Regions from separate parts of the Homo sapiens genome. Here all the other regions are linked to region 5. Evidence: promoter capture Hi-C in human tissues and cell types (Jung and others, 2019). All regions are on one chromosome and are shown on one strand. The core of a region is centred on a gene start or on the middle of the fragment in contact, and the rest is flanking DNA. Distances in the headings are between cores, read along the strand shown. Region 1 overlaps MMP24-AS1-EDEM2 (MMP24-AS1-EDEM2 readthrough). Region 2 overlaps UQCC1 (ubiquinol-cytochrome c reductase complex assembly factor 1). Region 3 overlaps MMP24-AS1-EDEM2 (MMP24-AS1-EDEM2 readthrough). Region 4 has its middle 17 kb from the start of ITCH. Region 5 holds the start of NCOA6 (nuclear receptor coactivator 6). Region 6 overlaps ITCH (itchy E3 ubiquitin protein ligase). Region 7 overlaps ITCH (itchy E3 ubiquitin protein ligase).

Region 1 (4,082 bases), core at 47-2,546, 420 kb before region 5:
TTGTTTCCCCTTTGCCTTCTACTACGATTGAAAGTTTCCTGAGGCGTCCCCAGCCATGCTTCCTGTAAAGCCTGTGGAACCCTGAGCCAACTAAACCTCTTTTCTTTATAAATTACCCAGTTTCAGGTATTTCTCTTTCTTTCTTTCTTTTTTTTTTTTTGAGACAGAGTCTCGCTCTGTTGCCCAGGCTGGAGTGTAGTGGTGCCATCTCAGCTCACTGCAACCTCTGCCTCCCAAGTTCAAGCAATTCTCCTGCCTCAACCTCCTGAGTAGTAGCTGGGATTACAGGCGCGCACCACCACGCTTGGCTAATTTTTGTACTTTTAGTACAGACAGGGTTTCACTATGTTGGCCAAGCTGGTCTTGAACTCCTAGCCTCAGGTGATCTGCCCACCTTGGCCTCCCAAAGTGCTGGGACTACAGACATGAGCCACTGCGCCCAGCACATTCTTTTAAAATGTTTAATTCTTGGCCAGGTGCAGTAGCTAACACCTATAATCCTAGCACTTTGGGAAGCTGAGGCAGGAGATTGCTTGAGCCTAGAAGATTGTGACCAGCCTGGGCAACATGGCAAAACCCTATCTCTACTAAAGATACAAAAAATTAGCCAGGCATGGTGGCATGTGCCTGTAGTCCCAGCTACTAGGGAGGCTGAGGTGGGAGGATCACCTGAGCTTGGAAAGTTGAGGCTACAGTGAGCCAAGATCACACCAGTACACTTGGGTGAGGGGAGTCAGACCTTGTCTCAATAAATAGATAAATAAATAAATAAAATAAAAAAGTTTGATTCTCAAAACAACACTGTGAGGTAACAGAAATTATTATTCCCGGGCCAGGCACGGTGGCTCACACCTGTAATCCCAGCACTTTGGGAGGCCGAGGCGGGCGGATCACGAGGTCAGGAGATCGAGACCATCCTGGCTAACATGGTGAAACCCCGTCTGTACTAAAAAATAAAAAAAAAAAATTAGCCGGGCGTGGTGGCGGGCCCCTGTAGTCCCAGCTACTTGGGAGGCTGAGGCAGGAGAATGGCTTGAACCCAGGAGGTGGAGCTTGCAGTGAGCCGAGATCCCGCCACTGCACTCCAACCTGGGCGACAGAGCGAGACTCCGTCTCAAAAAAAAAAAAAAGAAATTATTATTCCCATTTCACAGATGAGGGAAACAATCCACAGATAAATCCAGTACCTTGCAAAACACAGAAATCAGCAAGGCAGGACTGGAACTTAGTTGAATGAAAAAATGAACTATTCATTAATGCAATTTAACAAAGCCTGGAGCTTTTATTTTTTCCTGTCAGTGCTTAGCACAAAGCTGAGCTAGAGGAACTATGTTGTTGACCAAATGAATGAGTGAATGAATAAATGTGTGACATTTCCCAAGGCGACACTCAAACATAGGACTTTAAATGGCTAATCTAGCTTCCTTTAATTAACAGTCCCTGGGAAGGGAACCAAGAACCACCTCTGACTGAGTTAGACCCAAAGGCACCTAGGGGAGGAAACAGGCTCAGAGAAAGGCAGCCATTGCCCAAGGTCACAGAGCTGGAGCTGCATCTTGGGGCTCTAAATTCTACCCTGAACACTCCCCATCTCAGGTCTTGGATTAATAAGTGCAACTGGCTTCCTCCTTCCCCTGCTTCCAGACCACAACTCCCCCGCCTTCTACAAGGAGGTGTGGGCAGAACTGCAAGTGGGAAATGCCATCCTTTTCCCTCGGATCATTCCCGCTGCCTCCTCCTTTCACCATCCACCTGCCACTCTCTGAGCGCCATCCAACAGGCCTGGGGCTTTTTGGAACAGAGTAAAACCCAAGGCCAGGTGGTGCCGCAGCAGAGACACCAGTGCTTCTGCCCCAGGATGCACTGCCATGAGGCCTGTGCAAAGCCCTCAAAATAACCTCCGCTTTGAAAGGCGGCTGGGCTCTCTTTAACCAGCCCACTCTGGAGACCACGGGGCCAAGGAGTCCACTGTATTCACAACAGCACAGGAGAAGAAGTTCACACTCATAATCAGAGAATCCTAGGAATGGGAAATGTTCACACAGGATTTTAGGATCCTAAAACCCCAGACTTGCCAAGTTTTAAAAGCTTAGATGCTTAAAATAATGGAATCTAGGCTGGGCACGGTGGCTCACGCCTGTAATCCTAGCACTCTGGGAGGCCGAGGTGGGCCGATCACCTGAGGTCAGGAGTTCGAGACCAGCCTGGCCAACATGGTGAAACCCCATCTCTACTAAAAATACAAAAAAAATTAGCCAGCATGGTGGTACATGCCTGTAATCTTAGCTACTTGGGAGGCTGAGGCAGGAGAATCGCTTGAACCCTGGAGGCAGTGGTTGCAGTGAACCGAGATCACGCCACTGCCCTCCAGCCTGGGTGACAGATCGAGACTTCATCTCATCAAAAAAAAAAAAAAGGGGGGGGGAATCTAGAATTTAGAGCCATAATCCAACACCCTCCTTTGCAAATGAACACACTGAGACCCAGAGAGATGATTCTGTCCAGGAGTGACTTACGTCAAATTGATCCTTGATCCACAACTGGGTGCATTTCCTGTTCCTCCCCCCACCAACTCCCTTGGATCCTCACCCAGCCCTGCTAGCATCTTCCACCTGCCTCAGGTTCCCCTCCCTTCCCACCTCCTTAGGAAACTCACTCCTGTTCTTTTCCATGCTTTAATGATGTGAATGGCTTTTCTTAAACAACTCTCATAGCTTTCTTAAGCAAGTTTAAGGCTGTTCAACTCTCTCCTATCTTAGACAAACAAAACTTCATCCTCTAGCTGCTACCCATTTCTCCCCACCTCCCTGTCAAGCTTCTTGAATGTCTTCCCTCCACTTGCCACCTCTTCTCCTCACCTCCGCTTCTCCCCACTTCAGTCTGACTTCATCTCCACCATTCTGCTGAGGTTAACAACAAGCTCTTTGTCACTAAACCCAGCAGACAACTTTCAGCCATGCTCCTGTTGGAGGGCTCTGGAGTGGCTGGCCCCACTGACCACCCCACACCATGTGGCATCATGACATTGCATCACATCATCACGTCAGGCTTCTTGCCCTCCGGCTGCCCCTTCTCGGCTGGCTTTGTGGGGTTCCATCCCCAGCACCCTGCCCGTGAATCTTTACATTCTCCTTGAGTGATTGGGACCATCCTCATGGCTTTTTTCTACCTCCTAAGTGTTACTACCTCCTAAGTGTCTCCCCAAAACTCATTGTTTCCTTCTGAGCTCTAGACTGGTGTGGCTAGATGACTGTATTTGTCACTAAATGGTGAGCCTCTGGAGGGCCGGATGACAGGCACATGCAGGCACCCAGCACATGTTTGGTAAATGGAAAAAGTGGAGCCAACTCATTATCATTCAAGCGTTTTCTGTATTCTGTGAGACATGCACGTTGCAGGGAACTCCAGAGGGTGACCCATAGATAAATTATTCGAGCCAGAGGGGATTTAAGACCCCATCTATAACCCAACCCCTCACTGTACTGATAAGGAAACTGAGGTCCAGAAGGGTTAAGCAACTTGTCTCCAAGGTCACATGGAATGTTAATGGGAGGGCTGGACTCCCATCCCAGCACACCCCCAACTCACATCGAGATATTCTTTCCCAGGATGGCACTGCAGGAATAAAAGATAGGAAGGGAGGATGGGCATGGGGTGTACACAGGCCATGACAAATGTGAACCCAAATGTAAGTCCAGAAAGTTCAAAGGCACAATGTCCTATGGAAATCTTACTCGATCGTTGTCTGATCCAACACACCGGTGACCGGGATCCCGTAAAACTGCTGCATAGTGGAGACTGCCGACTGCAAGGCCTTCGCTGAGTGCAGCGCAGATGCCCGTGAGTCATAGGGAAGCAGATAGCCATAGGACTTTAACCAGTTCTGAAAGACACGGGAAAGAAAAAGATGCGTTATGCTGGGAAAGGCTCTGTTCTACCTGGGCAGAGATGTGCCTTGAACACGAGGGATCATTTGACCCCAGTGACTCCTGGACTCATGCTCTGAGTTCTTTTTCCTTCACCCCATCCTGCAGACACTGTCAAATTCATCTCCAGAGAGCAGCTTTTATTGGTGTCCCCTC
Region 2 (4,221 bases), core at 358-2,857, 500 kb before region 5:
AAAAGACAGTAGATTTAGAGACTGACCATCTGAGTTAAAAGTCCCAGCACTGTCACTTACAAGCAGGATGTGATTTGACTACAAGTGACTTAACGTTTTTGTTTTTGTTTTTGTTTTTGTTTTTTGAGACAGAGTCTTGCTCAGTTGCCAGGCTGGAGTGCAGTGGCACAATCTTGGCTCACTGCAACTTCTGCCTCTCGGGTTCAATGGTTCCCCCGCCTCAGCCTCCTGAGTAGCTGGGACTACAGGTATGCGCCACTATGCCCAGCTAATTTTTTGTATTTTAGTAGACATGGGGTTTCACTATGTTGGCCAGGCTGGTCTCGAACTCCCGACCTCAGGTTATCGGCCCACCTCAGCCTCCCAGAGTGCTGAGATTACAGGCGTGAGCCACCGCACCTGGCCACTTAACAGTTTTGAGCTTCTGTTTCCTTGTTTATAGAATCAGGACAACAATAGCATTTTGGCTGTGAGCTCCTCGAGGGCAGGGTTGTGGTTGTGAGGCACAAATAAGATAATAAAATGAAAATATTATTAAATGCATTGTGTAATCATTGTTACGACCATCACTGTCATCATTATTATCAGTACGGATTTTAGATAGTACCCAGGATTATTTCCTTTAGGACTCCGCACCATCAGTGCTGTTGTTGAAACTGCGACTCTTTCAAGCCAGGTGTTGGCTTCTCTAATGAGTATGCATGAGACTTGTCATGTGGAATACTACAAAAAGCTTCCAGAAACCAAAGTAGATTATAGCTATAATGTTCCCCTTATTCAAATGCCCTAAAAGAGACGAAAGTTAAATTGCCATGGTAGTTTGATCATCCCAGAACCGTAGTGTACCTCATCAGCTCCTTTTGAAGATGATTGTGGACTTAATATTATGTGTTCTCATGTTTTCTCAACTGGACAAATGACTAGAATTTCTGAGGACATACATCTCTTCTCTCTTGGCTATTTTCCAAGCCTGAGGGAAGGACTCCTGTACTTCGTGACTATATAGAAATTAGGGCTGCTGGTTCTGCAATTCTGTCTGCCAACCATGTCCCTTGTTTTTCAGCACATTATCAGGCTATGCAGTCTTGAACATGTAGATCCCAAGCAGCAAAACTAGAATTTTCAAAATAAATAAGAAAGGGGTTTGTATTATTATTACTATGTTGTAGAGACAGGACCTCACTTTTTTGTCCAGGCTAGTCTTGAACTCCTGGCCTCAAGTGATCCACCTGCCTTGGCCTCACAAAGCATGGGGATTATACACGTAAGCCACCTTGCCCAGCCAATAAGGGAATATTTTTAAACAGCATGTCATCATAGCAAGCTTCCCTTGTACATTAAAAGTTTGAAATGTTTAAAATGGATTTTAAAATGGACCTCCTCATGCTGGGTTTAGGTTGGCCTTTCATCGCAACGGGAACATACTCTATTTAAATGTTCACATTATTTTCTAAAAAGAGAAAAAGAAATTGTCTTTCATTTAAAATATTTTTCTTTTTATTCTTGGTATTAACAACTTTTTCTGGAACTGCTCAATATGCATGCGTGCCTGAGCGTGCGCGCGCGCGCGCGCACACACACACACACACACACACACACACACAGTTTTGTTTGTATTTTGTCATCATTGCTAAAAGACCCTCAATAGATCTTTCAGTCGTAATGCATGTGAGTTAACAGGTAGACTTTTTTATTTGGTCTCTCCATGTCCCCCGTCTCTCTTGTCTGTCTACTCTTACTCTGTTTCTAAGTATCTCACAAAATATTCCACAGTGGGCTAATTTCTAACCTGAACTTTAAATAGGCTAGCTGATGTTCAGTGCACATCAGCCTGTTGCCGCACAATGACTGTAGAACATGGCGTTGGCACTGCAAAGCATTGGTGGTGGCATTACTGTCTACTACAGCAAACTAAAACATGACCTACAATCTTGTGTTGCATTGTTGCCTTATGATGAATTTGATATAGTCCTTAGGCTTCAGCCAGCAACTCTAGCTGTCCTTTGTCATTCATTCATTCCAGCAAATTCTTAGTCTGCTACTGTTAGCAACTTTGCTTCAAGCCAGTAACCTTAAAGCTTATTCTCACCTTCATGCTCATCAGTGTTTTCCATACCAACTTTCTTCTGTTTTCCCATTCCCCCACCATAATTACACCCACTCTCAACCTCAGGTTTTCCCAGGAGTGGAGCTTGGCTCTACTAGGGATATCTGATGTATTAGTAACCGGCCACTGATGACCCATCTGGTGGCTGTCTCTAGCTGCCACTGGAACTGGAATCTCTGAGTTGTGTTTACTCAAGACCACATTAGCATTTCTTAGTTCTGCCTCTGCAGATAGCCTGAGCTGTGGGGCACAGGAAGGGGCAGCTACATTCCTTCCAGTGTCTATTCCAACACAGGTAGGCAATGGAGTTGGATTGCTCTGTATTCTTATCTTGACCCCACTATTTCCTAGCTGTCTAGCTTTAACTTTCCCAAACATCAGATTCCTCTTCTCTAAAGTGGAGACAGTAACAGTTCCTGTCTCTTAGAGTCCTTGGGAAGGTTTAAGTGGGCTAATGTGTAAAGTTGTAGCACAGTTATTGGCACTTGGTAAATAATGAATGATGGGACCCGTCTCCAGACTTGAATCACTTTGGGGCACCTGTAGATGGGGGAGAGGGCAGACTTAGTAGAGAAAATATGTGTGCTAAGTCTTAGAGGATAAGGAGTTAGCATCCCTTCCATCAGTGGATAAAGAAGAGAAGAATTCCTGGCAGCAGTATGACTAAGAAATAGATGACAGCATGATGTATCTGTGCACATACTTTACTGACTGCAGGGTGAAGTAAGATGGGGAGGCAAGAGGAGGGGAGGCAAAAAAGATGGCCAAGAGCAGATCACTAGAAGCCTTGTAGAGTCCATGGAGGAGTTAAAACTTGATCTCCCATCAGTCCCTGTATCCACATAGTCTGGTTCCTCTGTTAAGCAGTCACATAAATATCTTTAAGGCAGCAACAGTGAAAAGGGGAAAGAGAGCAGCGAATTGGCCTCAAATGAACTGGCATCTCTTTAAAGCTAATATTCCTCCTTGAGAATGCTACTTTAATTAAACATGTGCCCTGCAAGATTCATTATTGCCTTACTTGTGTTCTCTGTTGGTTGTCTCATTCATTAATCTGCCGATTAGTAACCCTGAACTCTTGCATCCCTTCCTTTTTTTTGCATTCCCTTTTTAATATACTATGCTGTTTCCCCTGGGACATAAACTCCAGGACCCGTCCCTGGCCTGCTCGTGTTTGTTTTCTTTGCCCCTTGTGCCTGCCTCTGCTATAATATTTGTAGTATGTGTTAAGTAATCCTTAAGGTAACATTTTTATTATGTCATAAAAAGTGCATGGCAAATATATTATAACTCATGGACTTTGTTTAAAAATGAACGGATAATTTATTGAGTGTGTTACATGAGCCTCACTCCCCTCCCCATTTCAGCTGAGACCTGCTGCTCATTTAGCCAAGCCTCCTATTGAGTGCTCCCTCCCTGTGACATGCTGGGAAAGCAGGCCTGTGGTTGGCTAGAGGTGACATCATAGTTTATGTACTCAATAAAAATTTAATTAAGTCATTACAGGAATTGCAGTCATCATTTAACCCTCTGATTTCTTCTGTTTAGTTTATTATTAAACATTCAGTAATACCAGTCACTGAATCCTGGTGGCTTATAAAATATCTGCATGAATTTTAATGGCTTAAATAAATGGGAAAATATGAGTAACTGATATAAAAGGAACCTTTTCCTTGTGGTGTTGTATGTATGGGTTTTTATGAAAAGCAAAGCATTATGGAAAGGATGAGTTTAATAAGAGAACGGCCCAACACTATCTGGGAGGAGTTTCTCTTCTGCTGGGTGCAGCTGTGTAGTCATGGGCAGAGTGCTCCATATAGAATGATCTGGCAGTGGAGAGGTGGGGAACCTGCACACCAGCAACCAAAAACTTAAATGAGGGAATAAAATCCAACAGGGATTCACCAGAGCGAATATCCTGCTCCCCTTGGCTGCTGGACTAGCTAGAAGGGCCCTGCCGAGTGAGTCCGGTAGTTGAGGAAGGTGCTGTCACTTGCCCTCACCTGTTGCCTGCAGATCACGTGTCTGTACTGATCTCACTTCCACCCTCTTCCAGGAAGGCCCCTTTTCATGATCTAATCCAGCCTGGGTGATGATATCTGAAAAGCATTTCT
Region 3 (4,163 bases), core at 1,585-4,084, 360 kb before region 5:
GCTATTTACCTTTATTTATATTGCAACTGCTTTTGGTTTTTTTGTCTTGAAATCTTTGGCTAAGCCAATGTCTAGAAGGGTTTTTCCAATGTTATCTTCTAGAAATTTTACAGTTTCAGGTCTTGGGTTTAGGTCCTTAATCCATCTTGTGTTTTTTTCTTTTTTGTGACAGAGTCTCACAGTCTCGCTCTGTCACCCAGGCTGGAGTGCAGTGGCGTCATCTCAGCTCACTGCAAGCTCCACCTCCTGGGTTCACGCCATTCTCCTGCCTCAGCCTTCTGAGTGGCTGGGACTACAGGCGCCCGCCACCACGCCCAGCTAATTTTTTGTATTTTTAGTAGAGATGGGTTTCACCGTGTTAGCCAGGATGGTCTCAATCTCCTGACCTCGTGATCTGCCCGCCTCGGCCTCCCAAAGTGCTAGGATTACAGGCGTGAGCCACCACGCCCAGCTCCTCAATCCATCTTGAGTTGATTTTTGTATAAGGTAAAAGATGAGGATCCAGTTTCGTTCTTCTACCTGTGGCTAACCAATTATCCCAGCACCATTTGTTGAAAAGGGTGTCCTTTCCCCACTTTTATGTTTTTGTTTGCTTTGTCAAAGATCAGTTGGCTATAAGTATTTGGGTTTATTTCTGGGTTCTCTATTCTGTTCCATTGGTCTATGTGCCTATTTTTATACCAGTATCATGCTGTTTTGGTGACTATGGCCTTATAGTATAATTTGAAATCAGGTAGTGTGATGCCTCCAGATTTGTTCTTTTTGCTTACTCTTGCTTTGGCCATGTGGGCTCTTTTTTGATTCCATATGAATTTTAGAATTGTTTTTTCTAACTCTGTGAAGAATGATGGTGGTATTTTGATGGGGACTGCGTGAATTTGTAGATTGCTTTTGGCAGTATGGTCATTTTCACAATATTGATTCTATCCATCCTCCTATAGCCATTCTTGATGGTATGAAGTGGTATCTCATGGTTTTGATTTGCATTTCCATAATGACTATAACGATGTTGGGCATCTTTTCATGTGCTTATTGGCCACTGGTGTATCTTCTTTAAGAAATGTCTAAAATTTACTCTGCTTTTTCCTATTTTCATTATTGAATCTGTTCTGTCTATCTTTCCTATCTGGGCATGGTCATATCTCACCAATTCACAAATACCATGTTTCTCCCCTAGATTCCTCTGATTCCTGCAGTTTTAGTAGAGGAGAGAAAGCATAAATCCTAGAACACAAAGGCACGGGTTTGAATCCTAGCTCTGATACTATATTAGTCAATTCTTGTGCTGCTATACTGGAATACCTGCAAGTGGCTAATTTATAAAAGAAAAGAGGTTTATTTTTGACTCACACTTCTGCAGGATGTACAGGAAGCATGGCACCAGCATCTTCTTCTGGTGAGGCCTCAGGAAGCTTTCAATCATGTTGGAAGGCAAAGGGGGAGCAGGCATATAAGATGAGACAGAAGGAAGCAAGAAAGAGGAGGGGAGGTCTCAGATCCTTTTAAACAACGAGATCTCATGTGTAATCTAACTGAACAAGAACTCACTCAACACTAAAGGATGGTGTTAAGCCATTCATGAGGGATCTGCCCCCATGACCCAAACACCTCCCATTATGCCCATCTCTAACAATGGAGGTCACGTTCCAACATGAGATTTGGAGGGACAAAACATCCAAACCATATCAGTTATTAACTTTCTTATTCTCCCTAAACATGTCTCCTAATCTAAAATGATTATATCTATCTTACAAGACCAAAGAGAGTATTAAATGATAAACGCAAGTTACAGAATTCCAAAAACTATATAGCAATATGTAAATGATAGCTACAAGAGTAAATCAGAGCATAACATTTTTCTTTCTTTCTTTCCTTTTTTTTTTTTTTTTTTTTTTTTTTGAGACGGAGTCTCGCTCTGTCGCCCAGGCTGGAGTGCAGTGGCACGATCTCAACTCACTGCAACATCTGCCTCCTGGGTGCAAGCTACTCTCCTTCCTTAGCCTCCTGAGTAGCTGGAACTACAGGCACGTGCCACCATGCCTGGCTAATTTTTGTATATTTAGTAGAGACGGTTTCACCATGTTGGCCAGGCTGGTCTCGAACACCTGACCTCAGGTGAACTGCCCACCTCAGCCTCCCAAAGTGCTGGGATTACAGGCGTGAGCCACCATGCCCGGCCACATAACATCACATTTTTATTTGTGTGTTTCTTCTAGTTATACAATGCATCTTGCCTTGTGTTGTTCTCTTTTGTATGTTTTATCTTCCCAAGAAAAGACTGGGCTCCTTGAGAAGGATCATATCCTAATCGTTTTGTGTCTTCCAAAGTACATAACATAAAGCCTTCTATATGGAAGTTTCTGACAAACATTTATTAAACGAGTAAATAAATTAATGATGTGAGATATAGTGAACATTTATGGGTTTTTGTTGTTTTTGCTTTTCTATTTTATTTTTCTTTTGTTCTGTTTTTTGAGCCCAGGAGGTTGAAGCTGCAGTGAGCCATGATCGTGCCACCAATTCCAGCCTGGGCAACAGACCAAGAGTCTGTCTCAAAAAAAAGATAATATATGTAGAGTTAGTAAATACAGCAGTGGCTACTGATCTCCAGGCTTCTCATTTGCATCAATTCTTTAAAATCACCTGTACCTGTTTTGGTTGCCCAGCATCTGAAATCTCTTCCTCTGTGTGAGTCTTAATGGGAGACAGGTTCTCACCTCCCACAAGAGAAGTCAAAGGTATCTAAAGTTTTCCTTTTCCCCCCTGCACTTGCAGCTAAGGCAAAAGCAACATGATCAAGGCTTGGTCATTTGGCTGCTTCCACTCAGGATATTGACTCTTGAACAAATGATGTAAAGACACAGGGTCAGAGGAGAATTCCTTTAATATGGCAGCAGCATTGGTGATGGAGGTAGTGCTTCCAGCTGTGGCATCCTTAATACCATTCCTGTGGTGTGACTTTGGCTGTGGTCCCTGGTTCTACTTTCTGAGCTTGATTATCTGGCTTTCCCATCAACTCTGAGGATTACTTAATAACCTTCCAATATACTTATTTTCCCCTTAAGTTGGCAGAATTGGTTTCTGTTGCTTGCAACTAATAATCTTAGCATACCTCTGGAGTAAGGATTTGGGGAGAATGAGAAAGCAGGAGGCGTTCCGTTTTTCCTTTATGAAATTTCTTTGTAAACTTCTCTGTTATTGCTGTTGTTGTACCACTTCCGTCATTTAAAAATATGCTTTTAAAATAAATAATCTAAGGCACAGTGGCTAAAGAGAAATGGTAGAAAATAAAATTTGAGGGGCCGGGCACAGTGGCTCACGCCGGCAATCCCAGCACTTTGGGAGGCCAAGGAGAGCAGATCATGAGGTCAGGAGTTCAAGACCAGCCTGACCAACATGGTGAAACCCCGTCACTACTAAAAATACAAAAATTAGCCGGGCGTGGTGGCACATGCCTGCAATCCCAGCTACTTGGGAGGCTGAGGTAGGAGAATAGCTTGAACCCAGGAGGTGGAGGTTGCAGTGAGCAGAGATCGCACCACTTTACTCCAGCCTGGGTGACAGAGTGAGACTCCATCTCAAAATAAAATAAAATAAAATTAAATTAAAATTAAATTAGAAAATTAGGTTGGGGCCACATTGTGCAAGGCCTTGAATGTCATTTTGAGGATTCTGAATTTAACTCAATGAGAAATTTAAAAAACAGTCCAGGCGTGGTGGCTCACGCCTGTAATCCCAGCACTTTGTGAGGCCAAGGCGGGTAGATCACTTGAGGTCAGGAGCTCAAGACCAGCCTGACCAACATGGTGAAACCCCGACTCTACTAAAAATACAAAAAATTAGCCGGGCGTGGTGGCACATGCCTGTAATCCCAGCTACTCGGGAGGTTGAGGCAGGAGAATTGCTTGAACCTGTGAGGCAGAGGTTGCAGTGAGCTAAGTTCACACTACTGCACTCCAGCCTGGGTGACAGAGAGAGACTCTGTCTCAAAACAAAACAAAACAAAACAAAAAACAAAAAACAAACAACAACAAAAAACGGAATAATGACACAATTAGATCTGTGTTTCTTACTGCCATGTAGAAGATGAATTAAAATATGGAGAAATTAGAGGCAATTTCTTAGGAGGAGGCTGCTGCCATGGTCCAGACAAGATTGAGAAA
Region 4 (4,105 bases), core at 1,073-3,572, 480 kb after region 5:
TGCACTCCAGCCTGGTGACAGAGCAAGACTTGGTCTCAAAAAGAAAGAAAAATAGTTTCATCTACTACCTCCATTGATGGCTTATTTCAAAGCAAATCCCAGACATCATATAATTTCTTCTGTCAGTATTTCAATAGATTGTGTGGTAGCTTTTTATCTTAGCAGTTGCATTCCTTAGTAATGTATATACTGAAGCAGTGGGTGGCTAATGCATCGAGCTGGTCATTTCACACATATTGCTTAGGATGTGGCTAAAGTAGGATTTTAGCTATTAAAACTATGAGATGCCATGTTTTCACTATCAGATTGGTCAGGAACAAAAAAATTGCTATCTCAACAGTGTTACCAAGCAAGTGAGAAACAGCCATACTCCTGATTGGAGTATAAATTGACGTGATGCCAATTGTGTGGTGGAAGGACAATTTGGCTGTATCTATGAAAATTTTAAAAATATATGTCAGGACTGGGCACAGTGGCGTATGCCTGTAATCCCAGCACTTTGGGAGGCCGAAGTGGAAGGATTGCTTGTATCCAGGAGTTGTGGACAACCATAGGCAACATAGCAAGACCCCATCTCTACAAAAAATAAAAAATTATTTGTGCATAGTGGTGCAGGTGTGTAGTCCCAGGTACTCAGGAGGCTGAGGCAGGAGGATTGCATGAGACCAGGAGGTTGAGGCTGCAATGAGCTGTGATCCTGCCACTGTACTCCAGTCTGGGCAATAGAATGAGACCTTGTCTTAAAAAAAAAAAAAAGACATAGGAGAAAATCTTCAAGACCTTGGGTTAGGCAAAGATTTCTTAGATATGACAACAAAAGCTTAATCTATAAAAGGAAAAATTGGTCAATGAAACCATCAAAATTCAAATTTTTCTGTATCTTAAAAGACACCATTTGCTTTCTGTGTTACCCATGGAGGGGTCCATGTGACGTTGTTCTGGATTCCCATTGTAACTTCAAGGGAAACTTTCACAATGTCCAGAGCCCTTGATGTCCTGCCAATGAAGAAAGAGGATGTCTTCAAGTTCCTTGTAGCAGGATAGCAGGAACCCACTTAGGTGGCATCAGCCTTGACTTCCAAATGGAACAGCACTTTTTTTTTGGAGACAGTCCAGCTCTGTCACCCAGGCTGGAATGCAGTGATGCGATCTCAGCTACTGCAACCTCCGCCTCCTGGGTTCAAGCGATTCTCCTGCCTCAGCCTCCCTAGTAGCTGAGATTACAGGTGCCTGCCACCATGCCCAGCTAATTTTTGTATTTTTAGTAGAGATGGGGTTTCACTGTGTTGGCCAGGCTGGTCTCGAACTCCTGACCTCATGATCTGCCCACCTCGGCCTCCCAAGTGCTGGGATTACAGGCGTGAGCCACTGCGCTCGGCCACTTTTTTTTTTTTTTTGAGACAAAGTCACACTTTTGGCCAGGCTGGAGTGCAGTGGCGCCATATCGGCTCACTGCAATCTCTGCCTCCTGGATTCAAGCGATCCTCCTGCCTCAGCCTCCCAAGTACCTGGGATTACAGGCACACGCCACCATGCCTGGCTAATTTTTGTATTTTTAGTAAAGATAGGGTTTCACCATGCTGGCCAGGCTGGTCTCAAATTCCTGACCTCGTGATCAGCCCACTTCGGCCTCCCAAAGTGCTGGGATTGCAGGCGTGAGCCACTGAGCCCAGCAACTTTTGTATTTTTAGTAGAGGTAGGTTTTACCATGTTGACCAGGCTGGTTTCCAACTCCTGACTTCAAGTGATCTACCTGCCTTGGCCTCCCAAAGTGCTGGGAATACAGGCGTGAGCCACTGAGCCCAGCCCTAGAGCTAGCATTTAATCCAACTTGGGGGATAAGGGAAGTATCTAAAGCAATAAGAATATATTTTGTTGGCTGGGCGCAGTGGCTCATGCCTGTAATCCCAGCACTTTGGTAGGCCGAGGCAGGCGGATCATGACATCAGGAGATCGAGACCAGCCTGGCCAATGTGGTGAAACCCCGTCTCTACTAAAAACACAAAAAATTAGCCGGGTGCGGTGGCATATGCCTGCAGTCCCAGCTACTCAGGAGGCTGAGGCAGGAGAATTGCTTAAACCTAGGAAGCGGAGGTTGCAGTGAGCCGAGATTGCATCACTGCACTCCAGCCTGGGCAATAGAGCGAGACTCTGTCTCAAAAAAAAAAAATCTTTTGTTAAAATATTTGGCCTTTTGTCCTAGATCTTTGAAACCCCTCTTGGAATAGCTTCAGTGCCAGAAGGTGAAAGATAAAAATATTGTTATTTAAAACAATCCCTTTTCAAACACACTTGAGTTTATATTTTGTTTTGTTTTGAGAGGGAGTCTCGCTCTGTCACCAGGCTGGAATGCAGTGGTGCGATCTCCACTCACTGCAACCTCTGCCTCCCTGGTTAAAGAGATTCTTGTGCCTCAGCCTCCTGAGTAGCTGGGATTACAGGCACGTGCCACCACACCTGGCTAGTTTTTTGTTTTTTTTTTTTTTTTTTTTTTTTTAGTAGAGACGGGGTTGCACCATGTTGGCCAGGATGGTCTCAATCTCCTCACCTCATGATCCGCCCGCCTTGGTCTCCCAAAGTGCTGAGATTACAGGTGTGAGACACAGCGCCCGGCAGAATTTATGTTAATGACAGGATTCGGGGAAAGTTCCAAGATAACCACAGGATGGGAGAGTGGCTGCCAGAGGATCCAACCATTAGTTCAAAGGGTTGAAACTTTCAGCCCCACCCCCAACCTCCAGGGAGGGTCTCTAAGTGAAGTTAATCACCAATGGCCAATTATTTATCAATCATGCTTACCTAATGATGCTTTTTTTTTTGAGACAAGAGTCTCACTCTGTTTCCCAGGCTGGAGTGCAATGGCGTGATCTCAGCTCACTGCAATCTCCACCTCCAAGGTTCAAGCAATTCTTGTGCCTCAATCTCCCAAGTAGTTGGGACTACAGGCACCTGCCACCACAACCAGCTAATTTTTGTATTTTTAATATAGATGGGGTTTCACCGTGTTGGCCAGGCTGGTCTCGAATTCCCGACCTTAGGTGGTCTACCTGCCTAGGCCTCCCAAAGTGCTGGGATTACAGGTGTGAGCCTCTGGGCCCAGCCTGACGCTTCCATTATAAACCAAAGCGACTGGGTTCAGAGAGCTTCTAAATAGCTGAACACCTGTAGGCTTCCAGGAAGGTGAATGAGAGCACATCCACACGCAGGAGGAGGAGGTGACACCCCATCTCCATAGGGATAAAAGCTCCCGTGCTCCAGACCCTTTCAGACTTTACCCTTTGTTCTCTCCATCTGGCTGTTTATTTGTAGCGTTTGTAATGTATATGTTTCCCTGAGTTCTGTAAGTCCCTCTACCAAATTAATGGAACCCAGGGAGGGAGTTGTGGGAATCCTGATTTATGGCTGGTTAGTTTGAAGTTCTGGAGGCCTGGACTTATTACTGGCATCTGAAGTGAGGATAGTCTTGGGGACTGAGCACTCAACCTATGGGACCTGGTGTTATTTTCAGGTGGATAGTATCAGAGTTTATTTGGACTAGAAAACACCCAGCTGGTGTCCACTGCAGAACTGACTGATTGCCTGATGTGTGGGGAAAACCCCTATACATCTTGTGTCAGAGGCCTGTTGTGAGTATAGTGGGAGAAACTGAGTTTGTTTTTTCTGGTCATGGTGGTTGTACAACTCAATAAATTTACTATAAATCATTCAATTATACACTAAAAGTGTGTGCATTTTATGGTATGGCAATTATACCTCTATAAAGATGTCTTCAAGGCTGGGCGCAGTGGCTCACGCCTGTAATCCCAGCACTTTGGGAGGCTAAGGCGGGGGCGGATCATGAGTTCAGGAGTTCAAGACCATGCTGGCCAACATGGTGAAACCCCGTCTCTGCTAAAAATACAAAAAAATTAGCTGGGCGTGGTGCGTGCGTGTAATCCCAGCTACCCGGGAGGCTGAGGCAGGAGAATCGCTTGAACCAGGAAGTCAGAGCTTGCAGTGAGCAGAGATTGCGCCACTGCACTCCAGCCCGGCGACAGCAAGATTCCATCTCAAAAATAAAATAAAATACATAAAATAAAATAAAGATGTCTTCAAATATAAGGCC
Region 5 (3,900 bases), core at 756-3,255:
GCTGCCATACAATCCAGCAATCCCATTCTTAGGTATACACCGGAAAGAAAGGAAATCAGTGTATGGAAGAGATCTGCACTCTCATGTTTACTGCATCCCTGTTCACAACAGCCAAGATTTGGAAGCAACCTAAGTGTCCATCAACAGATGAATGGATAAATAAAATGTACATATACACAATGGAATACTATTCCGCCATTAAAAAAGAGTGAGATCGTGTCATTTGCAACAATATGGATGGAACTGGAGGTCATTATGTTATGTGAAAGAAGCCGGGCACAGAAAGACAAACTTCACATGTTCTCACTTATTTGTGGGAGCAAAAAATTAACTATTTTTTATTTTTTTTTGAGACGGAGTCTCACTCAGCCACCTAGGCTGGAGTGCAGTGGCGCGAGCTAGGCTCACCGCAACCACCATCTCCCAGGTTCAAGAGATTCTCCCGTCTCAGCCTCCTGAGTAGCTGGGATTACAGGCACCCGCCATCATGCCCACCTAGCTTTTGTATTTTAGTAGAGACAGGGTTTCACCATGTTGGCCAGGCTGGTCTTGAACTCCTGACCTCAGGTGATCCGCCCATCTTGGCCTCCCAAAGTGCTAGGATTACAGGCGTGAGCCACCATGCCGGGCCAGGAGCGAAAAATTAAAACAATTGAACTCATGGAGATAGAGAATAGAAGGAGGGTTACCAGAGGCTGGTAAGATTAATGGGGAGGTAGGTGGGAAGTGGGAATGATTAACGGGTACAAAAGAATAGTTAGAAAGAATAAGACCTAGTATTTGCTAGCACAAGAAGGTGACTACAGTAAAAAACAATTGGCCGGGCGCGGTGGCTCACGCCTATAATCCCAGCACTTTGAGGGGCAGAGGCGGGCGGATCATGAGGTCAGGAGTTCCTGACCAGCCCGGCCAATATGGTGAAACCCCATCTCTACTTAAAAAATATACAAAAATTAGCTGGGCGTGGTGGCATGCGCCTGTAGTACCAGCTACTCAGGAGGCTGAGGCAGGCGAATCCCTTGAACCAGGGAGGCGGAAGTTGCAGTGAGCTGAGATCGCGCCACTGCACTCCAGCCTGGGCGACGGAGTGAGACTCCGTCTCAAAAAAACAAAAATAAAACAAAAAACAAAAAAAAAACCACACACACACAAAATTTACTTGTACATTTTAAAATAACTAGAGTATAATTGGGTTATTTGTAACACAAAGGATAAATGCTTGAGTTGCTAGATACCCCATTTACCATGATGTGATTACACATCGCATGCCTGTATCAAAATCTCATGTACCCCATAAATATATTCACCTACTACGTACTTACGAAAATTTAAAAAATACATCAGTGTAGTGTGGGAAAAAACAGAAAATTTTTAAAAAAGAGTGAAAGCCAGATATGAATCCAGGCCTGTATGACAGACATGAAGTCCAGTGCTGAGGAGGCCTTTCTACGTTTGGGAAGAGGGGAGGGGCCACACTCGTTCGATCAATAATTCTATTTACTGAGCATTTTAGCTTGCTAGGGAGGTAATGATGGGAAAAAGAAGAGAGGGATTTAGAGGCAAATAATAATGAAAGCTTTTATCTATATCCCATTAAGCTTATTATTAGACAGTATGTGTCAGGCACGGTGACAAGTGCTTTCCAAGCCCACCTCCATTTGCTCTTCACAAGCACTATGATTTTCCCCATATTTCAGATGGGTAAACTGAGGCTTGGAGTTGCCATGTCCAAGGATACTCAGAGCGCTCGCAAAAGACTGTGCAATGTGTGCTTCCGAAGTGGGACTCACTGGCGAGAGAATAGCCCTGGAAAGCCGACAGAGACCCACGAGATCCCAGCACTAAGCACTCAGCACCGAAGGGAGCTGGCGCGCGCTCCACCTCGCGCTCCCGGGGACGTCTGGTCACGTGGGCAATGCCCCGCCCCTCGAGTCCGCCCCGCCCCCTCTCGCGCTCCCTCCCTCTCTCCCTCCCTCCCCCTCCCTCCCCGGCCCGGTCCGGCCCATCCCCCTCCCCGCCGGCTCCGTGAGGCCCTGCCGGGTCGGGCTGCGGGCGGCCGGGCGCGGGCGGCGGGACAGACGGGCGCACGCGAGGACTGACGGACGGACGCACCGAGGGCGGCGGGCACGCACGGCCCGGGCCGGCGCTCCAAGGCCCGCCCGGGAGGGCCGGGGCCGCGCTCAGGTGAGGGGACGGCGGCGCGGGCCCGTAAGGGGTGGGCCCGCCGGGCGTCCGCGGTCCTTGTCGGGCTGGCTTCGCGGGGAGGAGGCGCCGCCCGGGCCCGCGCGGAAAAATGGCGCCGGGCGACCGAGTGGCACGGTCTGAGAGCGGGCCCGGCCCGGAGCCGCCCCGCCCGCCGCGCTTGTGTCCCCGTCGCCATGTTGGGGAGCGGGCCCCAGGCCTGCGGGCGGGGGCGCTGGAGGGAGCGGCGGCCGGGCTGGGTGGGGAGGGTGCTGGGCGCGGGGGCCGGTGCACTGAGGGAGTGCAGGGCTGGCCGGGGTCTGCACGGGGTGGCGCTCCAGGCCTGGGGAACAGGCGGGAGCCGGTCGTGGGGTCGTGGTCAGGGTCGCGGAGAAGGAACACTGGGTCCGAAGGGAACCGGGATTGGGGTCTATGGGCTGAGAGGATGGCAGGACGTGGAACTGGGTTAGGCCTTAGGCGGTGTTAGAGCCCTAATGCAGGTAGGACCTGGGGATTGGGGTGGAGGCATGGGGGCCAAGCTCAGGCTGTCAGGGCTGGAGCAGTTCTTTGCTGGGAGGGAAGGAGGTGATTGATGAGGAATGAGGGCCCTTTGGGTACAGACGCTGGTTCAGATTGGGGCAGTCCTTGGGGTACTGGGGCTGAATTGCAAAGCTGTATAACTCCCAAGGCTCTGAAGACTTATGTCCCAAGCATCCTCCACCCCCTCTTGGGGGAAGCAACAGGAAAAAGGAGGTGTTTGATGAGAGAAAAGGGGGACAAAGGGAGACTGAGGTTTGGGTGCAGGAGCTGGCCAGCAAAAGAGGCACAGAGAGTGGAACTGGTTGGCAAGGAAGGAGAGAACCTTTATCAACTTAGGGAGTTGTGTGTGTCTTTAAAAGGAGGGACCTGGCTGTTTGGGGGCGGTGACCCAAGGTGTCTTCCCTGGAAGGGGACAGCCCACAGCTTAAGAGCAGAGTCACCTGGAGAGGTCATCAGAAAGGCGTTATTGAAGCCAGTAAAATGGTGAAGAAGAGTGAATGTATAAAAACTACAAAGGCCTGAGAGATCAAGTAAAGATTTCAAATCAGGTAGTGATTTTAGCTGAAACATAGAAAGGTAAAGTTGACTTTTCAAGATCTTACAAGTTAGTGGCAGAGGGGTACTAGAAATTGTCGGCTGCTTCCTCACTAAACACATTGCCTTAAAGGAATTTGCTAGCTGGGAGAAAGGTGTTAAGAAATGAAGCATAACATTCTTGTGATGAAACTAAAAGCAAACAAACAAAAACAACAAGAAATGAAGCATAACAGTATATACCAGATAACTATTAAATTTGTTTTCTTCCTGTAATGAGTGTGGCAATACAAAGGCTGAAGGGAATACAAAAAAGTATAGGCAGCCAGTTATTTGGTATTTCCTGGTTCATCTCTAATTGTGCAAAGAAGTTATCTTTGAGACCTTCTAACTTTCTAGAGTTTTAAGAGGTGCTCCGGCCAGCCACAGTGGCTCACGCCTGTAATCCCAACACTTTGGGAGGCCAAGGTGGGAGGATTTCTTGAGCCCAGGAGCTGGCAGACCCCATCTCTACAAAAGAAATAAAAAAAATTAGCCACCTGATGTGGCTTGTACTTGTAGTCCCAGCTACTCAGGAGGCTGAGGTGGGAGGATCGCTTGAGCCTGGGAGGTCAAGGCTGCAATGAGCCATGCTATGGTCATTCC
Region 6 (4,018 bases), core at 1,335-3,834, 450 kb after region 5:
CCAATAGGTCTCAAGGTTATTCAAAATAAGAGGCTTGACTCTTCTCAAATTTTCAAAACTTTTGCCTATTACCAGGCTCACACAAATCCTCTAAAATTAAACTCCACCCCCTGAAGTCCATTCCTGCCTCTGCACCTTGGCATATTCTGAATAACTAACTAACTTCCCTCCTTCTATCTGCCTTAATAATTATTCTACATACCTCTCATTCAGTACTAGACTGCTTTGAGGTATTGTTTGAACTGTTTTATTTATTTATTTATTTATGTATTTATTTTTGAGACACGGTCACACTCTGTTGCCCAGACTAGAGTGCAGTGACATATCAGTGACATGATATCAGTGCAGCGACATGAGCTCACTGCAGTCTCAACCTCCTGGGCTTAAGCGACCCTTGCACTTCAGCTGGGACAATAGGCGCACACCACCATCATGCCTGGCTGATTTTTATGAGGCTTTTTTGTAGAGACAGTGTTTCACCATGCTGCCGAGGCTGGTTAAATCTTTACGTGGGTAAGAACTTTCTTCTCAGAGGGCAGAAAACATGGGTTATGCTGCAGAAAGTCAAGCCCCAGATCAGAGGTTGTAAAGCAGCAAGCCACAAGACAAATTCTGCCCACAGTGGTAATTTGTTTGGCCCACAGTGTTTACACTATGAATTCATAAGTTGCCAACATTTAACAATAAAAATTTCTTACAAAATCTTGATTTCTAGCTTCTCCTTAGAAAAAAATTAAGATGTTCAGTCTGCACATGGTCTGCACTCTCCCCAAGGTCAATAGTAAGCCAACACTGAATTGTACACTTTAAAGTAGTGAATTTTGCCTCAATTTTTTTTTTAACCTTCTGAAAACTTTCCTTTTTAATTTTGAAAAATATAATGACGGGATCTCGCTATGTTGCTCAAGCTGGTCTCAAACTCCGAGGCTCAAGCAATCCTATCACCTTGGCCTCCCAAAGTGCTGGGATTATAGAAGTGAGCCACAGCAACTGGTAAAAAAAAAAAAAAAAAAAAAAAAAAAAAAAAAAATTTTAACTACCAATACATTGTGAGTGTATTCCCAAGACCTTAAGTAGTATTTTTAAATTATTTTAATTGACAAAAAAGGTATATATTTATCATGTAAAACAGGTTTTATTTATTTATTGAAATAAAATAAAGATGGGGTCTCACTATGTTATCCAGGCTGGTCTCAAACTCCTGGCCTCAAGAGATCCTCCTGCCTTAGCCTCTCAAAGTGCTGGGATTATGGCATGAGCCACCATGACCAGCCCATAACATGTTTTAAAATATGTACATGTTGTGGAATGGCTAAATCGAGCTAAATAACATATACATAACCTCACATACTTACTTTTACCTCCATTAAAAAAAAAAAAAAAAAAGGCCAGGTGCGGTGGCTCACGCCTGTAATCTCAGCATTTTGGGAGGCCGAGGCAGGCGGATCACCTGAGGTCGGAAGTTCCAGACCAGCCTGACCAACATGGAGAAACCTCGTCTCTGCTAAAAATACAAAATTAGCCAGGCGTGGTGGCACACACCTGTAAACCCAGCTACTTGGGAGGCTGAGGCAGGAGAATTGCTTGAACCCGGAAAGCGGAGGTTATGGTAAGCCAAGATTGCGCCATTGCACTCCAGCTGGGGCAACAAGAGCGAGATTCTGTCTCAAAAAAAAAAAAAAATCACGCCAGGCGTGGTGGCTGACACCTGTAATCCCAGCACTTTGGGAGGCCGAGGCGGGTGGATCACCTGAGGTCAGGAGTTCAACACCAGCCTGGCCAAAATGATGAAACCCTATCTCTACTAAAAATACAAAAAATTAGCCAGGCGTGGTGGAGAGCACCTGTAATTCCAGCTACTTGGGAGGCTGAGGCAGGAGAATTGCTTGAACCCGGGAGGCAGAGGTTGAGGTTGCAGTGAGCCAAGATCATGCCACTGCACTCCAGCCTGGGCAACAAAAGTGAAACTCTGTCTCAAAAAAAAAAAAAAAAAATTGTAAGCCAAAGCTGCTTTAACAGCTGCTCCCTTGGAGGGGAATGAATTCCCTAGTTCACTTAAAGTCCCAGTCTGATCTGTCATTACTTACTAAATGTTCATCCAGCCCTTGCAGGCATTTAAATTTACAATGCTCAGCCTAAATAGGTTTACTGAATGATTTATGAACTCAGATCATAACTTTAAGAAAGATAAGGTTGATGGTAATGATGATAATGAAAACAACGACTAACACTTCACACTGTGAGCCAAGTCTTGTTCAAGCAGAAACACATAATACCTATGTATATATGCTATTACTATTCCCAATTTACAGATGAGAAAACTAAGGCAAAAAGAAGTTAGGCAAGTTGGCCAAGATCATACCACCACTACACAGTAGAGTCAAAATTCAAAATCAACCTAACTCCAGTAAATACTGTTAACTCCTACAATATAATCCTTTAGACTAAAATCCTTTCCTTTGTGACCAACTAAATTTGATTATTTGGAAAAATAATCAAGACAAAATTGTAGAACCTACTCTTTCTTTGCACGAATGAAGGCCTAACAAGCAAATCAAAGTTCACCTAAATGCAGATGGTTATTTCTGGAGCTTATCTTGTCTTAAAAAAATAAAAAATAAAAAGTCCATCCTGGCCAACATGGTGAAACCTCGTCTCTACTAAAATACAAAAAATTAGCCAGGCGTGGTGGTGGGCACCTGTAGTCCCAGCTACATGGGAGGCTGAGGCAGGGGAATCGCTTTAACCTGGGAGACGGAGATTACAGTCAGCCAAGACTGTGCCACTGCACTCCAGCCTGGCGACAAAGCAAGACTGCATCTTAAAAAAAAATAAAAAAAAAAAATGTTCTCTTGTAACTGACAAAGAAAAGGTTGCAGAATCCAGTAAAATAATAAACATTTTCTCAGAAAGCAAGCAAGTTAGTAGATATTTCTGGAGTGAGTTAAGCTCAATATGTAGATGAATTCTTAACCTGTAAGTGACGACATAGTATTAAAATTCTTCTCTTTTCTGGGACAGAAGGATAGATCTATTAGGGTAAGCAATTTCCAGACATGGAAAAAAAAAATGCGAGTTGCTGGAGGGCAGAGATTGCTTTTTCACCATAAGTCCCTGCAATGTCTAGCATACAGCAGCACTTAAAATACATTCAATTATGTTAGGCCGAATGCCTATAATTCCAGCACTTTGGGAGGCCAAGGCAGGCGGATCACCTGAAGTCAGGAGTTTGAGACCAGCCTGGCCAATATGGTGAAACCCCATCTCTAGTAAAAATATAAAAATTAGCTGGCCATGGTGGCAGGGACCTGTAATCCCAGCTACCCAGGAGGCTGAGGCAGGAGAATGGCTTGAACCCAGGAAACGGAGGTTGCAGTGAGCCAAGATTACACCACTGCACTCCAGCCTGGGCGAGAACAAGACTCTGCCTCAAAAAAAAAAAAAAAATACATTTGGCCAGGTGCAGTGGCTTATGCCTGTAATCCAGAACTTTGGGAGGTCGAGGCAGGTGGATTATTTGAGGTCAGGAGTTCAAGATCAGCCTCACCAACACAGTGAAACCCTATCTCTAGTAAAAATACAAAATTAGCTGGGCGTGGTGGCACATGCCTATAATCCCAGCTACTTGGGAGACTCAGGCAGGAGAATCGCTTGAACCCAGTGGGTGGAGGCTGCAGTAAGCTGAGATTGCACCATTGCACTCCAGCCTCGGCAACAAGAGAAAAACTCCGTCTCAAAAAAAAAAAAAAAAGGAATACATTCAATCATGTTAAAGGAACCAAAAAATCTGAACTTAATTTCTTAAATTGCAATGCAATGAAACTCTTGTAACATTTACCAACTTCCTTTTTATAATAATCAATCACTGGCAAGGAAGTCTGTTTTCCTGACAAAATCCTTAAACCAGGAGTTTTATATTTGAGTACCCCTTGGAACCTAGCACAATAGCAGCTCAACAGATCCTTGTCAAATATTACAAACTTAAACTTTCTATACTTACGTTTCCTACAGGTCTCTC
Region 7 (4,181 bases), core at 1,164-3,663, 320 kb after region 5:
TATGCTAGACCATGGATGAACCTTGAAAACATGCTAAGTAAAAGAAGCTACACACAAAAGGTTGTATATTTTGGCTGGGGGCAGTGGCTCACGCCTGTAATCCCAGGACTTTGGGAGGCCAAAGTGGGTGGATCACGAGGTCAGGAGTTCAAGAACAGCCTGGCGAACATGGTGAAACCCCGTCTCTACTAAAAATACAAAAATTAGCCATGCGTGGTGGTGCATGCTGCCTATAGTCCCAGCTACTCGGGAGGCTGAGGCAGGAGAATCACTTGAACCCAGGAGGCAGAGGTTGCAATGAGCTGAGATCACGCCACTGCACTCCAGCCTGGGTGACAGAGAGAGACTGTCTCCAAAAAAAAAAAAGTTATATATTTATCGTATGATTCATTTTATATGAAATGTCCAGAACAGGAAAATTCATAGAGACAGAAAGTAGATTAGTGGTTACCAAGGGCTACACGGGGTAAAAAGGGAGTGACTGCTAATGGGTACATGGATTTTTGGGAGGGTGAAAAAATTCTGGAATTAGACAGTAATGATGCTTACATAACCTCATAAATATGCTAAAATCACTGAACAGGCCAGATGCGGCAGCTCACACCTGTAATCCCAACACTTTGGGAGGCCGAGGTGGGTGGATCACCTGAGATCAGGAGTTTGAGACCGGCCTGACCAACATGGCGAAACCCCATCTGTACTAAAAATACAAAAATTAGCTGGGCGTGGTCACGGGCGCCTGTAATCCCAGCTGCTTGGGAGGCTGAGGCAAGAGAATTGCTTGAACCTGGGAGGCGGAGGTTGCAGTGAGCTGAGATCAAACCACTGCACTCCAGCCTGGTCTACAAAGTGAGACCCTGTCTCAAAAACAAACAAACAAACAAACAAACAAAAAAACCCCACTGAACCGAACTGCATAATTTAAGAAGGTGAGTTTTATAATCTGTAAATTATATATCAATAAAATTGTTACTTAAACACTACATGCATGTACAAAACATTATGTATAAAAACAAAAAGGAATAGACATTAGTAAAACAGTAAAGAGGTCAGATATCCAGGAAGGACCATATGTGACCACTAAAATATATCCCACAAAATAAGGTTCAAATATTGTTGACATTAGGTTGAATTCCAAAATATTAATATATTTGCTGTCAGATTAGGATTAGATTTAGTTTTCTACATTTTTAGAAATGTAATTAGATTTCAAATGAGAATATTTGTGGTCATGATGTTAGAAAGTAGGTCTCCTAACTTTCTTTTGCTGCCCTCAGAGAAAAGTTAAAATAACTCTAAATCCCACATTAGAAAAAAAATTCAGATGTGAAAAAAGGAATTGATTGCAAATAGTTGTAAGGAATCATACAGGGGTGAACAAAATGCTCTTAAACTGGATTGCTATGATGGCTGTGCTATTCTGTAAATCTACTAAATATCATTTTTAATTTCTAGCTGGCTTTAAATAGCTACAGATAACTGGACAAAAGCTGTTTTCTCTATCCATTCTGATTGTACTTACCAGGTATGACTTCTGGGTAGCCAATTTTCTTTCCCAACTTTTTCAATGCAGAATTTCTGTGGTCCATTGCTCCCTAAAACATAATGAAATCATAAACAGTTTGTTAGTATAGTGGATCTCAAACTGTGTTCCCCAATCCAACAAGCATCAGCATCATGAGGGAACTTGTTAGAACCATAAATCCTCAGGCCCCACACATCATCTTACTAATTCAGAAACTCTGGGTTAGGTGTGGTGGCTCATGTCTGTTATCCCAGTACTTTGAGAGGCAAAGGTGGGCAGCTCACTTGAGGTCAGGAGTTCAAGATCAGCCTGGCCAATATGGTGAATCTTGATCTCTACTAAAAATACAAAAACTAGCCAAGTGTGGTGGCGTATGCCTGTAATCCCAGCTACTCAGGAGACTGAGGCAGGAGAATTGCTTGAATCTGTGCAGCAAAGTTGCAGTGACTCAAGATTGCGCCACTACACTCTCGCCCGGGTGACAGAACGAGACCCTATCTCAAAAAAAAAAAAAACCAAAAAAAAAAAAACCAAAAAAAAAAAAAAACCCAAAAAACCCAAAAGCAACCAACAAACAAAAAAGAAACTCTAGGGGTCAGGCTCAGCAATATGTGCTTTAACAAGCTTCCGGGTGATTCTGGTAAGTGTAAAAGTTTGAAGACTATAGTTTGTTAATATAAGTCCCAAAGGAGAAAATGCAGTTTCATCTAGCATTCTTTAGCCGGAATAACACATTGTTATGATTAATAAAAGCTTACACAAGAACACACAAAAAGCTTAATTTTAGTAGTTTGAAAGACAATAACGAAACTACAATAAAACTTGATTTAAATACAGAATTAATAAAACTTTGTGAAATGTAAATATCCTAGTGAATTCCATATTATTAATGCTGGAACTTACAGGTCCTGTAGGGCATACCCTTACAAAAACAGATACAAGTATAAACATAAAATACTTGCCCCTCATTTACCTGCTGCTGGAGATAGCTGTGAAAAGTGATCATAAAAACACCAGTTTTTTAAAAGATCATTACTTTTCCCTAGGAAGCATTTATTGTTGGTCTCAATGACTGGTAATGCTACTAGATATTTTAATTAGAAGGGGGCAGGAACGCTAACTGTTCTGTAATGTGTGACACTGTCAGACACAAAGAACTTTCTCATGTCCCACCTGACTAAACCCTGTATACTAAGTATACCCAATATAAATTGTTAGTGCTTTTGTATTTAATAACACTGAATTGTTTTCACAAGTAGTTATGTAAAAAGTCCAGTAATATAGGAAACGTTATAAAAAAACACAGTTAAAATTATTCTGTGGTGTTCAACACATAAATTAAAATTAACTCACTCTGCATGTTCTCTCTACTCAATATATATATTTTTTGAGACAGAGTCTCACTCTGTCACCCTGGCTGGATGGCAGTGGCACAATCTTGGCTCAATGCAACCTCCGCCTCCTGGGTTCAAGCAATTCTCATGCCTTAGAGTAGCTGTGATTACAGATGTGCACCACCACACCCAACTAATTTTTGTATTTTTAGTAAAGATGGGGTTTTACCATGTTGGCCAGGCTGGTCTTGAACTCCTGGCCTCAAGTGATCAACCCACCTTGGCCTCCCAAAGTGTTGGGATTACAGGCATGAGCCATCATGTCCACCCTCTACTCAATATTTTATAGCATTTTCTTTTTTTTTTTGAGGCGGAGTCTCCCAGGCTGGAGTGCAGTGGAGCAATCTTGGCTCACCACAACCTCCGCCTCCCAGGTTCAAGTGATTCTCCTGCCTCAGCCTCCCGAGTAGCTGGGATTACAGGTGCCCACTACCACACCCGGCTAATTTTGTATTTTTAGTAGAGATGGGGTTTCACTATGTTGGCCAGGCTGGTCTTGAACTCCTGACCTCAAGTGACCCAACCGTCTCGGCCTCCCAAAGTGCTGGGATTACAGGTGTGAGTCACTGTACCTGGTCACATTTCATTTTTTATAAATTTTTTTTTTTTTTAAGACACAGGGTATCACTATGTTGCCCATGCTTAAGTGCAGTGGCTGTTCACAGAAGCAGTTATAGTGCACTACAGGCTTGAAATCTTGGGCTCCAGCAATTCTCCTGCCTCAGCCTCCAAATAACTGGGACTACAGATGTGTGCCCACCATACCTAGCAGCATATTTAACTACATAGATGGAAAGGAGTTTCATTTAATAATGCACATTAGTATGTAACAGAAAGGATTCTGAATTGCTTTTAATAGATTTAAAATCAAATATTAAAAACTCTGACACTGTCCCTAAACCATACAACTTCTGTGTAGACTTTTGTACCTATGTTCCTATTTTCAGCCACCTTTCAAATGTTATGGTCTCCGAGGCTTTTTTACATGTTAGAGCCTTGGCCTATAGTAGAATTTCATGACAGGAGATATATTCTGATACTATGCTTTTAAGATCTACCTCATTTTTCTCCACCTTGACCATCTATAATTTATTTTTGCAGGTGTATTATTCATACTTTATTTAGGTTACTTCCCTCCTTTTGTTATCACATATACTTAAGTCTATTATTTATCTTTCTCATCTGTTCTTTTATTTTCCAGTACTACTTGTCTTTTTTTTTTTTTTTTTGAGAGATGGAGTTTCGCTCTTGTTGCCCAGGCT

Evidence for each region. The method cuts DNA at HindIII sites, captures the fragments that hold promoters and counts their contacts. A contact is called where the count stands out against the background at its distance.
Region 1: a contact is called between a fragment that was not itself captured here and the fragment with the promoter of NCOA6 in region 5, in 2 of the 25 tissues and cell types used here (lymphoblastoid cells and mesendoderm cells).
Region 2: a fragment that was not itself captured here is called in contact with the fragment with the promoter of NCOA6 in region 5 in 2 of the 25 tissues and cell types used here (bladder and heart left ventricle).
Region 3: a fragment that was not itself captured here is called in contact with the fragment with the promoter of NCOA6 in region 5 in 3 of the 25 tissues and cell types used here (IMR-90 fibroblasts, lymphoblastoid cells and mesendoderm cells).
Region 4: a fragment that was not itself captured here is called in contact with the fragment with the promoter of NCOA6 in region 5 in 4 of the 25 tissues and cell types used here (heart right ventricle, hippocampus, lymphoblastoid cells and 1 more).
Region 6: a contact is called between a fragment that was not itself captured here and the fragment with the promoter of NCOA6 in region 5, in 1 of the 25 tissues and cell types used here (dorsolateral prefrontal cortex).
Region 7: a fragment that was not itself captured here is called in contact with the fragment with the promoter of NCOA6 in region 5 in 1 of the 25 tissues and cell types used here (lymphoblastoid cells).

Annotation. Positions count from the first base shown.
Region 1 is chr20:35,246,641-35,250,722 of GRCh38, reverse strand. The region is part of intron 2 of MMP24-AS1-EDEM2 (MMP24-AS1-EDEM2 readthrough); the gene reads left to right. MMP24 (matrix metallopeptidase 24) reads right to left here. Exons shown (of 9, transcript NM_006690.4): 2 at 3,735-3,883. Among named protein-coding and RNA genes, the nearest start is that of MMP24, 22 kb to the right of the region's middle. The HindIII fragment of the contact is 6,147 bases long and covers 1-4,082 here.
Region 2 is chr20:35,318,636-35,322,856 of GRCh38, reverse strand. All of the region lies in intron 7 of UQCC1 (ubiquinol-cytochrome c reductase complex assembly factor 1), which reads left to right. Among named protein-coding and RNA genes, the nearest start is that of FAM83C, 28 kb to the right of the region's middle. The HindIII fragment of the contact is 3,522 bases long and covers 1-3,368 here.
Region 3 is chr20:35,180,710-35,184,872 of GRCh38, reverse strand. The region is part of intron 4 of MMP24-AS1-EDEM2 (MMP24-AS1-EDEM2 readthrough); the gene reads left to right. It also overlaps a transcript of PROCR not described here. Among named protein-coding and RNA genes, the nearest start is that of PROCR, 11 kb to the right of the region's middle. The HindIII fragment of the contact is 9,419 bases long and covers 1-4,163 here.
Region 4 is chr20:34,344,656-34,348,760 of GRCh38, reverse strand. No RefSeq gene overlaps it. Among named protein-coding and RNA genes, the nearest start is that of ITCH, 17 kb to the left of the region's middle. The HindIII fragment of the contact is 6,422 bases long and covers 1-4,105 here.
Region 5 is chr20:34,823,756-34,827,655 of GRCh38, reverse strand. NCOA6 (nuclear receptor coactivator 6) reads left to right here and starts at 2,005. Exons shown (of 15, transcript NM_014071.5): 1 at 2,005-2,184. RefSeq lists silencers at 1,899-2,088, 2,099-2,538. The HindIII fragment of the contact is 14,831 bases long and covers 1-3,900 here.
Region 6 is chr20:34,372,709-34,376,726 of GRCh38, reverse strand. All of the region lies in intron 2 of ITCH (itchy E3 ubiquitin protein ligase), which reads right to left. Among named protein-coding and RNA genes, the nearest start is that of ITCH, 11 kb to the right of the region's middle. The HindIII fragment of the contact is 5,475 bases long and covers 1-4,018 here.
Region 7 is chr20:34,501,745-34,505,925 of GRCh38, reverse strand. ITCH (itchy E3 ubiquitin protein ligase) reads right to left here. Exons shown (of 25, transcript NM_031483.7): 24 at 1,523-1,595. Among named protein-coding and RNA genes, the nearest start is that of DYNLRB1, 13 kb to the left of the region's middle. The HindIII fragment of the contact is 4,977 bases long and covers 1-4,181 here.